Linked DNA regions of Homo sapiens: region 1 is linked to region 2. The links are contacts of gene promoters, found by promoter capture Hi-C in blood cells and fetal thymus (Javierre and others, 2016). All regions are on one chromosome and are shown on one strand. The core of a region is centred on a gene start or on the middle of the fragment in contact, and the rest is flanking DNA. Distances in the headings are between cores, read along the strand shown. Region 1 has its middle 46 kb from the start of KCTD3. Region 2 holds the start of PTPN14 (protein tyrosine phosphatase non-receptor type 14).

Region 1 (6,529 bases), core at 1,165-3,664, 970 kb before region 2:
AGGGAGTGCATACCAATAAGAAATTGATCATTAGTATTTTTCAGGCTGACATAAAAATCCCAATTTTGAATGAATAATTTAAGCAGGCATTTTAGCTTAGGTTACAGTTACAGTGTTTACTGGATTTTCTTTACTCCTAGTAATTCTTAGTCTATTGTGGAAGCATTTTCATATTGTGGTGGTAGCAAGGAAGTAATAAAAACACTAATGTTTATAGTGCTTCACAGTCTGTAAAAAGATCTGTTATGGACTATATTTCATTTGATTGATACAACAGTCTCCAAAGATAGGCACGGCAAATACCATTTCCTTTTTCTATTTATGAAAAAGAACTAGAACTTACGGATTTAAGTGACTTGCTTAATAGCACACAATTAATCATGTGACAGAGCTTAGTTGGCAGCCCTGGACTTCTGACCCCTAATCCCACATGTTCTTGTATTCATCAAGATGTACTCACAAGGACCCAGAAGCTGAAGGTTTAGTCTCATCTCTGTCATTTAAGTGCCTTATAAACATTAACAGCCAGATATTTTGAGTTTCAGTTTTTCTTGTTTAAAAAATGAAGGTTTTAATATCTGTCCTTTGTAATTGACAAGATAGCTATGAAGTACTTTGTGAGCTATTAAAGTGGTCTATTGAAAATATATGCGTGAGCAATATAACTGATTGTGTAGACCTGTGAAGTCAGGATCATTGATATTGGTAGAGAAGGGAGTTTTTTAGATTACAGAAGTCTTAGCTTGGATTATCGGTTATTCAAAGCACAGGAACTGAAATAAATTATCAATTGTAACCACACTGTGGCACTACTTACTCACGTAAGATTTTTCATTTCAAATTTTCTCCCTAAATTGAACTTTATAAAATGGAATATCACACTATGCCTGAGGAATTCATTGTGTTTTCTTACATATCTCTAAGTATTTTAATTATTTACTACAAACTTTCATAAAGATTAACGTAGTAGTTCCAAAAAATTGAAAAGTAGAAAATTATCGTCTTGATATTCTGATACCAAATTCAGAAAACATTGTAGCTTCTCGCTTTGATTGTGTTAGAGTGTGCGTGCCCATGTATGCCCAAAGCTGCTGAGTAATACAAGTACAAACTCCAGAAGACTTTAGCAAACTGCTTGACTATTATTCCCCTTAAACCTGGCATTAACCAGCTGATTTGGTTCCCAGAGGTGCACTGCCCCAGTCATATGCTATAATGAGTTGTCAAACGCATGACTTACCAGGAACAGAAACAAAATGATAGGCTTAACTGAGGAGAGATGGACTCAAAGAACAAATAAAACTTACTGAGGGCATATTATATTCAAATTACTGGAATCCATTACATTTGCATGTGACCCAAAAAACCCTGTAAATGAAAGGCTGCTTAGAAGTAGTTCAAGTTTTCTTTCTTTCTGGAGATGGGGTTGGGGGCAGGTCTTGTTATGTTTCTCAGGCTGCCAGGCTGGTTCCACTGGAGACTTAATTAATTACATGGAAGAATATGCAATGGCACTGGGAATGTCTAAAACATTCTAGACAGGAAGACACACAGGTTTGTTTGAGGGTGAACCATCTTGGAGACTGACTTCCTTGGGAAATCTAACCTAGAGATACCCTGGTGCGATGGAGAGGATGAAGCAGGCCACCATGTCCCTCTTTACCTTGACAAGTTAAGGGAAGGATGGAGAAGGATCATGTGAATTTATCTGGCTCCGAAAAAACCCACAGACATCTGTGAGACCCAGTTGCTCACACTCTACACATTTATTGAGCATCTACCTTTTCAGACACAGACCATCAGAAAAATTACCTGCTTGTAATTCTAATCTCAAAGAATACACACTCTTGAGTAAGAATAGACACAGGCACAAATAACCATCATGCGCATCCAACCGTGGAAAGTTCCTTACAGAACATAATAAATATCTGTTGAGTCTGAAATTATTTCCTCAAATGCTTGAGCACATAGAATAAATGTAAATTTATAAATTAAAAATCCTATTATATATTTACTGTTTGCTGGATATCATGATAAATTCTTAATCTAACAATCGTAATTCTCACAAAACTCCTAAAGGTAGATATTATCATCGCAATTTTACAACTTAGAAAAGTAATATTGACTGACTTGTCACAAACTGAGGTCTGTCTGATTTAAAAACTCATGCTTTGAAAAACACAATTTCAGGCTGGGCACGGTGGCTCCTGCCTGTAATCCCTGCACTTTGGGAGGCTGAGGCGGCTGCATCACCTGAGGTCAGGAGTTCGAGACCAGCCTGGCCAACATGGTGAAACCCTATCTCTACTAAAAATACAAAAAATTAGCCAGGCGTGGTGGCGTGCACCTGTAATCCCAGCTACACGGGAGGCTGAGGCAGGAGACTCGCTTGAACCTGGGAGGTGGAGGTTGCAGTGAGCTGAGATGGTGCTACTGCACCCCAGCCTGGGCAACAAGAGTGAAACTCTGTCACAAAAAAGAAAAGAAAAATACAATTTCAGGTATTCTGACTTCAACTGCAGTGCTCTTTTCATGACCCAAAGGACAGAAGGATCACTGCGTACAATTAGTTACTTCTGACTCCAGTGGTAGGAGAAAGGGACACAGATGTGGAAAGTACATTCTGGAGTGAAGGAACAATGGCACAATGAACACAGCTCATCAGGCTTGCTTCTAATTGCCAGTATTGTTCATGAATAGAATAGGATTGACCCAGGCCTCATATGTTGGGCTACACCCAATCATTCATTCATTCCCTAAGCCTTTTTAATTGCATAATAAATTTTCAATGGCTCTGTGCTTGGGGTAGAGCCAAAGCATCCACACAACATGATCCTCAGGGCCTGGCAACAAAATCAGCAGGGCTTTATTAAGGTGACAAAATATTTGATGGATGAGAAAAACTTCAGTAGAATTGATTCACCAAAGGGAGATGCTTCTCTAATGATTTCTATCAAACTCTGAATAACACCCAGTGGCCTAAAGCCATCACGTGACCGGGCCACTTCTTTAACCTAATTTCCTACCATTTTGTTCCTATGCATGTTCTCCTCCAGCCACACAATGAGGAAGCCTACAAAGTCCTCTCTTGCATGAAGATCTTTGCACATGACTTTCTCTCTGCCTAGAGTGCTCCTCATTCAGATACCTGCTTGGCTAGTCCCCTGACTCCCTTCGGGTCTCTGTTCAGATGGCACTCATCAGGGAGTGTGACGGTCCTATGTAAAGGAACTACCACACCATTCCAGCCTGCTCCCTTAGCCTGCTTGGTTTTTCTCCATAGCTAGCACTCATCACCATCTCACATAATGTACTCTATATTCATGTATTTGTTTGATGTCGGAAAGTTCTGAGATGGCAGGGAGTTTGCTCGCCTTGTCCATTTTAGCAATATTGGTACTCAGAATAATAAATATTTGTGGATGGAATGAATGTTATTCTTTTACTAATAATGTGGAATGTGTGTGTTTTTTTCCCAAGTCTCCATTAAAAGACCATGGGGTATTCAGTTAAACAAATAAATTTTGAGCACTTTGTGTTTATGCTAGACACCATAATAGGTGCCGGCACAACAGCAGAGATCAAGACTGAGTCCCTTCAAGGACTGCAGGCAAGTATAATCAATAGGTAATAGAAGAATAAGAGGATTCATTCCCAAGGTGCTCTGGGAACCATTGATGGGCACCTCACCCAGGTCTAGGGAATCAGAATAGATAGCTAAGAGAAGCTGCCATCAAAGCTGAGATATGAAGGACAAGTAACAGTTAACTATTAATTTAAAAATCACACAGTCTATAAATTTGGAAAGGAGATTTTTTTTTTTTTTTTTTAAATAAAGGGTTACGGCCTGCAAGGTACCCATCCTGAGAGGCTAGGAAGCATAGCCTCTGGCAGAAGCAGTTAGCAGGCACTTTGTGGGAGGAGAAGGTGGAAAAGGGATTTATGCTGATGGGTTTGCTAAGTATACATACTCAACAGGTTATAGGAGGAGCTATAAATGAAGTGGGTCCTAATGAATGTGTACTGAAATAAACATGCATTTGCATGCAACCCATGTTCACTTTGAAGTGGAGACAACATTTAAATGTATTACAATTAGGCCTATACATCAAAAGGTGAAGCAGGAACATGAAGACACTCAAGTGGGCAGCCTTTGTAAATTGGCCAGAACCAGTCTATAATCAGTGGTCTTCTTATCAGGATAAAGTTATTAAAATTAATGTCTTGTCCAGTCAAAGCTGCAGTTATGGCTTGTGGAAGAGGGAGGTCAGTTAGTCAGTGTCTGGTAGTGGTGAAATCCACTTGCTTCAGTATTGCTCATTTCTAGGCCAGTGCTTATTTAGGTGATAGAGAAGAAGAAGAAGAAGAAGAAGGAAAAAAAAAAAAAAAAAACTCACGGCAACTAGAACATAGTTTATTCTTTCTTTATTTTTTAATTTTTTTTTGAGACGGAGTGTTGCTCTGTCACCCCAGCTGGAGTGCAGTGGTATAATCTCAGCTCACTGCAACCTCTGCCTCCTGGGTTCAAGCAATTCTCCTGTCCCAGCCTCTGGAGTAGCTGGGATTACAGGCACATGCCCCCACGCCTGGGGGGGTTTCACCATGTTGGCCAGGTTGGTCTCGAACTCCTGACCTCTGGTGATCTGCCCGCCTCGGCCTCCCAAAGTGCTGGGATTACAGGCGCGAGCCACTGTACCCGGCCCATAGTTTATTCTTTAAGTATAGGGATGCATCACTTAACCATTGTCTGGCATGGCCTTGGTCCTGTTTATAATTTGGTAAATTATTGCCCCAAGAGTCCATTCTATCAGTCTTATGATCTCTATTTTAACGTTAATGCTGGTCAGTTGTGTCTAAACTGCAAGAGGGTGGGAGTGTAATGAGGCATGTCTGACCTCCCATTCCATCATGGCCTGGAACTCACTTTTTTACGGTTTCTCTGAGGTCCCCTTGGCCAAGAGGAGGTCCATTTAGTCAATTGGGGGGCTTAAGATAGTATTTTTAGTTCTCATAACTAAGCAAAAAGAGAATAATATTGCAAGCATGTGTAAAGATGAGTAGTTCTAAACTGAAATCTTGTGAAAAATGCAATATTCTTAATTATATTGTCACTTTCTATTAAATATGGTAGTTATATTTTTAGTAACTCATTTTAATAGATAGTAGGAACAAATTTTATCTTAGATCATCTGTCACTGACCATTGAGGAGGCCATTGAACTTGGTGGGCACACATACTCCAGTTGCTAAGGATTGTGGCTCTGACCACCAAATTTCATCAACCCTAAGATGCTATCATCTGTAAGGTGTGCTAATGTTTGCTAAGTTGCACTAAGAAAAAAAACTGCAAATAAATGCTTTTTCAAATAGTGTTCACTTTTATACTCACAAAAGATATTTTTTAAACTTATTTAAACATAAACTTTTATTACATATTACTCTTGTACAGAGAAAAATGTAAGTGAAATAATTGCTTAAGGCATTCCTAAAACCTCTTCACCTTTACAGTTTATTTTTACAGTTTTTTTTTTGGTCTCAAAATCATTAAGATCAGTATCTCCATCAAGACTTCACTACTGTCAGTAAGATTTTCTTACAAGCTGCTGCAGAAAGTATTGGTGATGAAGCTTTCTTGATCTGACCAGGAAGTGCCGAAAGAAGGTTTTTAGATGTCAATCAGGAAGGACACACCTTCCTCAAATGGCCCTTAAGTGATTTATCAGCTGAAGCATCAAGATTGCAGTTATTCAGTCATATTGCAAGGACCAACAACCATGTTTGTGGGTAGATAGTTAATAATAACTGGATCACGATTGCAATTTGGCTGAGAGTGATGTGTGAGAAAGCACATGTTGGTAAGATACCAATTTTAGGAATCCTCAAATTTGAAAAAGTGTGCCTTAAAAATGATGAAATATGCCAATTTTAAGAATTCTCAAATTTGAAAAAATGTGCCTTAAAAATGATGACCTATGGAAAGTAAAACAACAACAACAACAGTTTATCAGGCTATTCCAGATAGAATTTTGCTTATATCTATATAATTTATTCTACATACCAAGGAATCTGATTTCTTTTCTTTCAAACTTTGATGCCAGGAAGGTGGTCCTGCATTGTAGACTTGCATTTTACAGTCATTAGAAAGATAAGTTATAAAAGTGCTATCAGCTGACACATACCAGTATTTAACATACGCTTGATACTGTTTTAAGTGCTTTGCAAATATTAACTAATATCATTCTCACAACTACCAGGAGAGGTATATATTGTTATTCTCATTTTACAGACGCAGAAACTGATGAATAGAAATTAAGTTGGCCAAAATTGCCGTGCTAGTAAGTGGCAGGACTTGGATTTAATCTGAGGGAATCTGGTTCCCGAGTCTTCACTCTGGTGTAAATACGTTATAAATGCAAAAAATTAACATTTACAAATCTATTTATATGCGAGATATTATGCCACAACATCTGATCTGGCTTTTAGTTCTAAGTCTAGCTTAGCATCTGACTCCTATTCTGTCCCTGGATTTG
Region 2 (6,893 bases), core at 2,950-5,449:
CATGTGTAGAGAGGAGGAGCTCTGGTGTTTCCTCCTCCTCCAAATTTATATGTATTACACACCACACCACACACACACACACACACACACAAATATGATTCCATTTATATGAAGTTTAATAACCAGCAAAACAAATCCATGGTGGTAGAAGGGTGATACTGACTAAAAAGTCACACAAGGGAATTTCCTGAGGAGATGGACGTTTTCTATATCTTGACCTGGGTGGTGGCCCCATGCATGTATACACATGAAAAGGTCTTCAAGCTGCATCTACACTTAAGAGTTGTGCTTTTTATTGAATGTGAATTGTATCTTCCTAAAACACTGTCTAAAAATATTACACTCCTCCCAACTCCCACCATAACCCATCTCTACCCTAGACCCAGGGCATAAGATACAGAAGCAGAGGATTCAGAGAGGATGTATATTTGAAAAAGCTTCCCACTTCTCTCCATTACTCCAAGTTGCTAAACATCCTTTTAGGAATTGGAATTAAGCTGGACTATATACATACATGTACATATAAAACTTAAAAATTTGTAAAAGGCCCCTAGAGATCATCAGAGTTTTCTTAACAAAGCAGGCTTACTTTCCAGTTGGCTTTGATTTGGGGAACTTGTTCTGCTTTCAGTGGCTTCAGCATCTTTGAAGGTGTAAAATGAATGCATTAATGAGAGGAACACATTGGGGCTGGGAGGAATTGTGGAAGCCCACGGGATTCTTCTTTGTATTTGTAGTTTGAATTGGGCTTATAAGAATCTGGTAATTGCTTTGAGAAATGTAATATTGATAAGTTCTTACAATTGCAAAGCTTTAAAGCAAACATGTAGTGATGTGTTCAGGACCTATTCCATGAGTCGAATTCCTTTTCACCCTGATGTAGTATAAGGAGACTTGAGTGTGACAAAGATTTAGGAAATGGGTTTCTTTTTTCTTTTTGAAAGAAGCTTGAAACTAGCTTTTATATATTTATCCTGAGAATGAAAGGTTTTTGTCACTTCAAGCTGTACTTTCTATTTAGAAAATATTCTTTTTTTTTTTTTTTGAGACGAAGCCTTGCTCTGTCGCCCAGGCTGGAGTGCCATGGCGCGATCTCGGGTCACTGCAAGCTCCACCTCCTGGGTTCACGCCATTCTCCTGCCTCAGCCTCCCAAGTAGATGGGACTGCAGGCGCCCACCACCACGCCTGGCTAATTTTGTATTTTTAGTAGAGAAGGGGTTTCACTGTGGTCTCGATCTCCTGACCTCGTGATCCACCCGCCTCGGCCTCCCAAAGTGCTGGGATTATAGGTGTGAGCCACCGCGCCCGGCCTTAGAAAATATTCTTATTTGTATTGCCTTTCTGTGATCTATTCTAAAGAAAAAGAAATATGGCTAGTCAGATACACTCTATAGGCTTTTAAGTTAATAACGCATATTTTTTTTCTTTTTCAAGAGAGGATCTCACTCTGTCACCCAGGCTGGAGTGCAGTGGTGTGATCTCAGCTCATTGCAGCCTCGGTCTCTCAGGCTCATGCAATCCTCCCACCTCAGCCTCTCTAGTAGCTGGGACTACAAGCCTCGAGCTACCATACCTGACTAATTTTTGTATTTTGTGTAGAGTTGGGGTTTCGCCATGTTGCCCAGACTGTCTTCCTGTAAGTAAAATTATCTAAATTTTTAAAATGTGTCCACAGGGTTAGTGCTAAATCTTAGCTTTACTTATCATTGAACACTCAGCCACATTCATTGGAGTCTCAACATTCATTTTCATCTGAAGGCGGTGTGAAAACAGTCCTGTCCCCAGACACTGGCTTTATCCACTGGCTTTATTGCTTAGCTTCCTCCACAGGCATGCCATCTATCTGGAGAAGAGTACTTTGATGGAAGTTTAGTCCTGGGAAAGACCTCAGAGATGAACTATTCCAACCAAGCTCTGCCCTCTTTGCCACACTCTACTTAGAAAATAAATTCAGGCCTAGAGGTGAAGTGCCTTGATCAGGGTCCCAAGGCTGGTCAGAGGCAGAACCGGAACCCTTGTGTCTGCCCAAGAAGGACAACAAGTCCTTTGCTGCTTCTTTTATGCCACAACAGCCTCAGGGTGCTGTGCTCAGTTTGGTAGCACAGTGATGTTAGAGCAACACAATATATTTCCTAGTGTCTTTTCACTAGAAAAGACACCAAGCAAGAGGTCTCCCATCTCCCAGGAAAGAGCAAAGGCCAGAGTTTTACATTGAGATCCTGAAGGCATTTTCTTATCTTTAATCCTAATCCTGTTTGGGTCCAATTTCAAAGAGATGAAGAGCATGCACTTTAGGCCTGACAGACTAGGGCCCTGATCATATCTTCCTAGTTGTATGACCCTCAGTGAGACAGGTAATTTCTTCATGCCTCACTTTCCTCATCTAGGAATGGGGGAGTGCTTTCCACACTTTCTGGAACACAGTCAGGCACTGCCTAATGTTTTCTTTGGAAACCCAGCACGTCTGTACAGCTATTTCCTTTAAAATGTGAGAAAGTTGATTTCCCTTCAACCTTTTCTTTCCATCACTTTTGCATTGCACTCGGCGTTTTCTCTAATTTACAGTTCTAGAGATTGGCAGATGCTCGAAGAAAATCAGAGTCACTACGGATTTATTTATTTTATTTTATTTTATTTTATTTTATTTTTTTGAGAGGAGTCTGGCCGTGTAGCCCAGGCTGGAGTGCAGTGGCGCGATCTCGGCTCACTGCAACCTCCGCCTCCCAAGTTCAAGCAATTAACCTGCCTCAGCCCCAGAGTAGCTGGGACTACAGGCGCACGCCGCCACCCCCGAAACATTTTTTGAATTTTAGTAGAGACGGGGTTTCACCGTGTTGCCCGGGCTGGTGTCGAACTTCTGAGCTCAGCCAATCCCCCAGCTTTGGCTTCCCAAAGTGCTGGGATTACAGGTGTGAGCCACCGCGCTTTTTGGTTTCCAATTCTCTTCCCCAAGAGGCCAGGAATTTTTGCATGAGTTGCCGGACACTGAAGTGATTTGGGACAATACATTGTGTGCCAACGACTTCAAGGTCCCTTTTCAACAAAGGACTGGAATCTTACCGAGATAAATCCCAAGACATGTTTGTAGCAATGCAAAGGACCACAGAAATCTAGACAAATTATTTAATTTTGCAGCTACAGAAACCTAGGATCTCAGGGGCTGGGATACTCCTCAGTTATCCAATCGGGCAGGGCCTAAAACCCAGGTTCAGTCGCCTGGCTCCGAGCTTTTTCCATCATACCAGCTGCGTCTCATTAACTCCACCTCCGAAAGTGCTAAGGAAGTTCCCTCCCAGTGCCTACCCAGGCAGGGTGGGGCGATTCTGTGGCATGGAACAAACCGGGAAAACGACATTTTCCAACTCTCAGCACACAGGCTGCTTTTTATCATTCCTACGGGGCGGGAGGGGGCAGGGAGAGAAGGCTAAGACACCGGGTCCAGTACCCAGAGATTCTAGGGAGAGATCTCTGAGATTGCCTACTTGGTGAGGCCACCTTACTTTCTCCTGGTCTGTTTTCCCCTGTGGGGTGGCTGCATGAAACGTCCTGCTTGGAGGGTTCCCCAATATAAGGTGGACTATTCTGAATGTAGGTCGGGGTGAGCAAGTTCCTGCCGCCGCCCCGTCTCTGCGGTCCTCGGAAGTCTAGGTGGGCTCTTCCTTGCCTTGCCTCTTTCTCCCCAACGGCGGGAGCAGCCCAGGGTTGGGGTGGCTGCGGTCGCCTTGCTCTCTCCACTTCCACGTCTCTTACTCCAGGGAGTTTCATCCGGTCCTCCGTCCTCGGCCCCCACCTTTTAAAACATTTTCCAAAACTACCCCATTAAAAGTGTGCGACTTCTCCGGGCCTGCAGAAGGAGCTCCTGCAGCCCGGCATTCCTCGGATTCCAGCGCTGTGACGTCCCCAAGGACGGCGCGCCTCCAGCTCGGGAGCTCGGGAGCTGGGGCTCCACGTTTCAGCGCGCGCCCGCGGCGCCCCCGGCGCGCGCCCTCCCGGGCCGCATTCCTCCCCGCCCCCGGCCGCGCGCCCAGCGCTCCCTCCGCCTCCCGGCCCCCAGGGCCGCGGAGCCCGGCTCTGGGGTGGGGGAGCCGTGGCCGCCGGCGCCTGCTCCGTCCCCTCCCACTCGCACGGCCCCTTCCTCCCTCCTCTCCCGGCCGCTCGCATTTCCTGCCGCTCTGGCTCTCCCGGCCCCTCAAAGTTCTTTCCAACTTTTTCTCGGCGGAGTGAGCGCAGCGGGCGCAGACTCGGGGGCAGGTTGCTGTGCTTCTCCGGGCTCAGCCGCCTGCTCTCCTGGCTCAGGTCCTCGGGGAGCCCTAGACAGACATCAAGTGGCCACTGGCGCTCCTTCCCCTCCCAGCTGAGCCATCCTCCCCGGCCTCCTCGGGCGGGACAGCCCCGTGCTTAGGTTTTTCTCCTTTTCTCCCCCGGTGCGCCTCTGCTCGGACTCTCGCGCCGGGATCGCGGCGGAAACCTCCCTCCCCTTTCGCCTCCTGCGGCTCCTTCCCTTCGCCCCTCCTCCGCCAGTCACTGGAATCAATTCCGTGGGGAATCGGCTCCGCCGCCGCGAAGGACAGCCTTTCCGCGCGGGACTCCGGGGCGCCACGGGGGCCATGTAAGCAGGTAAGCCCCGTCCAAGCCGGGAGTTGGGCCCGAGGTTGGAGGCCGCCTTGGCGCTCCGGGCGCCCTGCAGATGACTTGGGCAGACGCTGGCAACGCCAACTTGCGATTGGCGCCCCGGGACGCCTGGCAGGGCAGCCTGGGGCGCGGGGTGGCCGGGCCGCAGGGGTGTTATCTCGCGGTGGGAGCTGCCCGCGGTGAGGCGCAAAGCTGGTCCCGGGAGCGAGCTGGAAGGTGAGCGCAGTCTGGGGAGTTTGTGGTTAAACCCACACCCTGGTCCCCTCTCTCCATTCCCTTCTGCGTTTTGGGAACGAGAGAGGGCCTCGGAAGGGCAACTAGAGATACCTAGACCTTGGGGGCTAGAGGATGAAAGACGAACGACGTCGCGGTCGCTGCAGCGGTAGGGGGATGCAGCTGCCCGACGCTCCCAATCACACCCCACCACCACCGGGAAGGAATCTTGAGGGGAGCGGAGTTTTCCTGCCCTCTCACTAGGCCCCAGTGGTGCCACCGAACTCCTGGGCGTCGAGGCTCCTACTTGGGTGGTCGAGCTGGCTCGTAGAAAAAAAGCTGTGGCCAAACAATTTCAGATCAGGTCTTCACCTCAAACTTCCAAAGTTGTAGGTATTAACAGCCTCTCCTTCCCCACGTGACCCCCAGATCTCAGGTTTGAATACTTGTAAATGGGGTTTACACCTTTTCGTTTGGAGAGAGCAGTGAGGTAACGCTGCCCCTATCTCCCTTTCCCTCTCACTTCCTTGGGTTCTTGTTCTCCAACCTTCTCATCCCCACCTACAATTTCAGAAATTGTGGGGTTTCCGCTTAAGTCTAGGGACTGGCTGTCGCAGGTTCTTTGTGAAGGTGAGGAATCTCTAGACTGCAGGTGCGGGCAGTTACAGAGTTTCCACCAATGTGTTAACTTCTTGAAATGGATTAGTTTACTCATTCATCCAACAAACCCAGCTTCTACTCTGCTAGGAACAGGATAGAAAGATGCTAAATGAGATCACAGGGCAGGAGTCTGCAGCCTAGTGGAGGAAACTTGAAGGCCGGTGAAGAATGATAATACATGGAAGAGGGGTTCTGTGAGAGTCTGAGGCGAGCTTGGTCCTGGTGAAGGGTGCACTACACTTAGAGGATAGAGGTTGTGCTCCTCTGGAGGGTGTATTCCAGGCAGAGGAAACAGCTCGTGCAGAGTGAACACAAGAAGGACAGAAAGTTTCCCTAGCCATCTGGGGGCCTGAGGGGCATTTATGGCCATGTTGGTGCAGTGTTGCTGGGATAGCATTCTCTCCACCCCCAATATCAGAAATAAATCTAGAAGCACGTTAGCCACTTATGGGAACCACAAGTAGCTTACCGAGGAGCCAAGGCCTCCCTAATTGGATACACCTCCATGCCTGCTGCTGTTTTACCACAAGCAGCTGTTGTATGATCATCTACATTTTAATTGGCCCATGCTCGGTTTCATTAAAATGGTATTGATTCTTCTTTTTTGTCCCCCACATTCAAGCAATGATTCCTTTTTTAAAAAGGCTGTTTGACAGCCGTAGGTGTGGTAATACCGCAGCATTACGGACCTTGTATTATAAAGTTAGCTAATTGTTTGGTGATGAGGTTGAAGCTTGTGCCATAGAAATGACAGCCTTAATGAGCGGGAGCTGAATGGCATGATGCCCTTTTTGCCCAGTCTGAATGGGTGGCCATGAGGTGCAAAATTCGTTCATCTGTATGTCACTAAGTTTGTTATACTTTTCTCTGCTTTTAAGTCATTACTATTGCTTTAGCACAGTTGTGCTAAAGTCGTTCTTTTCTCTGAAACTTTATGAAAATAGAAAACACTATCTTGCACATTTTTGTAGACTAATGGCCCAGGATTCAGCAAATCCTGCCTAGAAAAGTTTCTTACAATGCAGTAGCATTCTGTACGTGGTTTGCCTTTCAAGGGTGTCTCTTCACTGGACTGAAGTGGTGTTGTAGTATTGTTCATAGTGGCTGAGTCCTGGCTGAGGTGGCAGACATCCAGCTTTTGGTGACCTCAGGCCAGTACATCAGAGTGGGAAGAACACACTGACTTCCTACAACTTTGGGTGTTTATCCAAGCCCCTCTACCAGCATCTTTTCTTATCTCAGGAACAGCCCCTTCACAGAAGTTTTCCTGAAGGTGTAGGGACCTGCATGAGAGAAATGGCTGAAGAGAAGCCCACTCCCACTAATCCCAGACATTTGCCCAGTTTCCATCATTGGCTTAAACATGTAATTATTATTAACACTTGAG

The links. Contacts are between HindIII fragments. The CHiCAGO score rates a contact against its expected background, and 5 or more counts as called.
Region 1: a contact is called between a fragment that was not itself captured here and the fragment with the promoter of PTPN14 in region 2, in 1 of 17 cell types (total CD4 T cells). The highest score is 9.2, in total CD4 T cells.

Annotation. Positions count from the first base shown.
Region 1 is chr1:215,517,952-215,524,480 of GRCh38, reverse strand. No RefSeq gene overlaps it. Among named protein-coding and RNA genes, the nearest start is that of KCTD3, 46 kb to the left of the region's middle. The HindIII fragment of the contact is 6,428 bases long and covers 1-5,628 here.
Region 2 is chr1:214,548,908-214,555,800 of GRCh38, reverse strand. PTPN14 (protein tyrosine phosphatase non-receptor type 14) reads left to right here and starts at 4,199. Exons shown (of 19, transcript NM_005401.5): 1 at 4,199-4,618. RefSeq lists enhancers at 3,073-3,893, 3,894-4,714, 4,715-5,536. The HindIII fragment of the contact is 5,292 bases long and covers 950-6,241 here.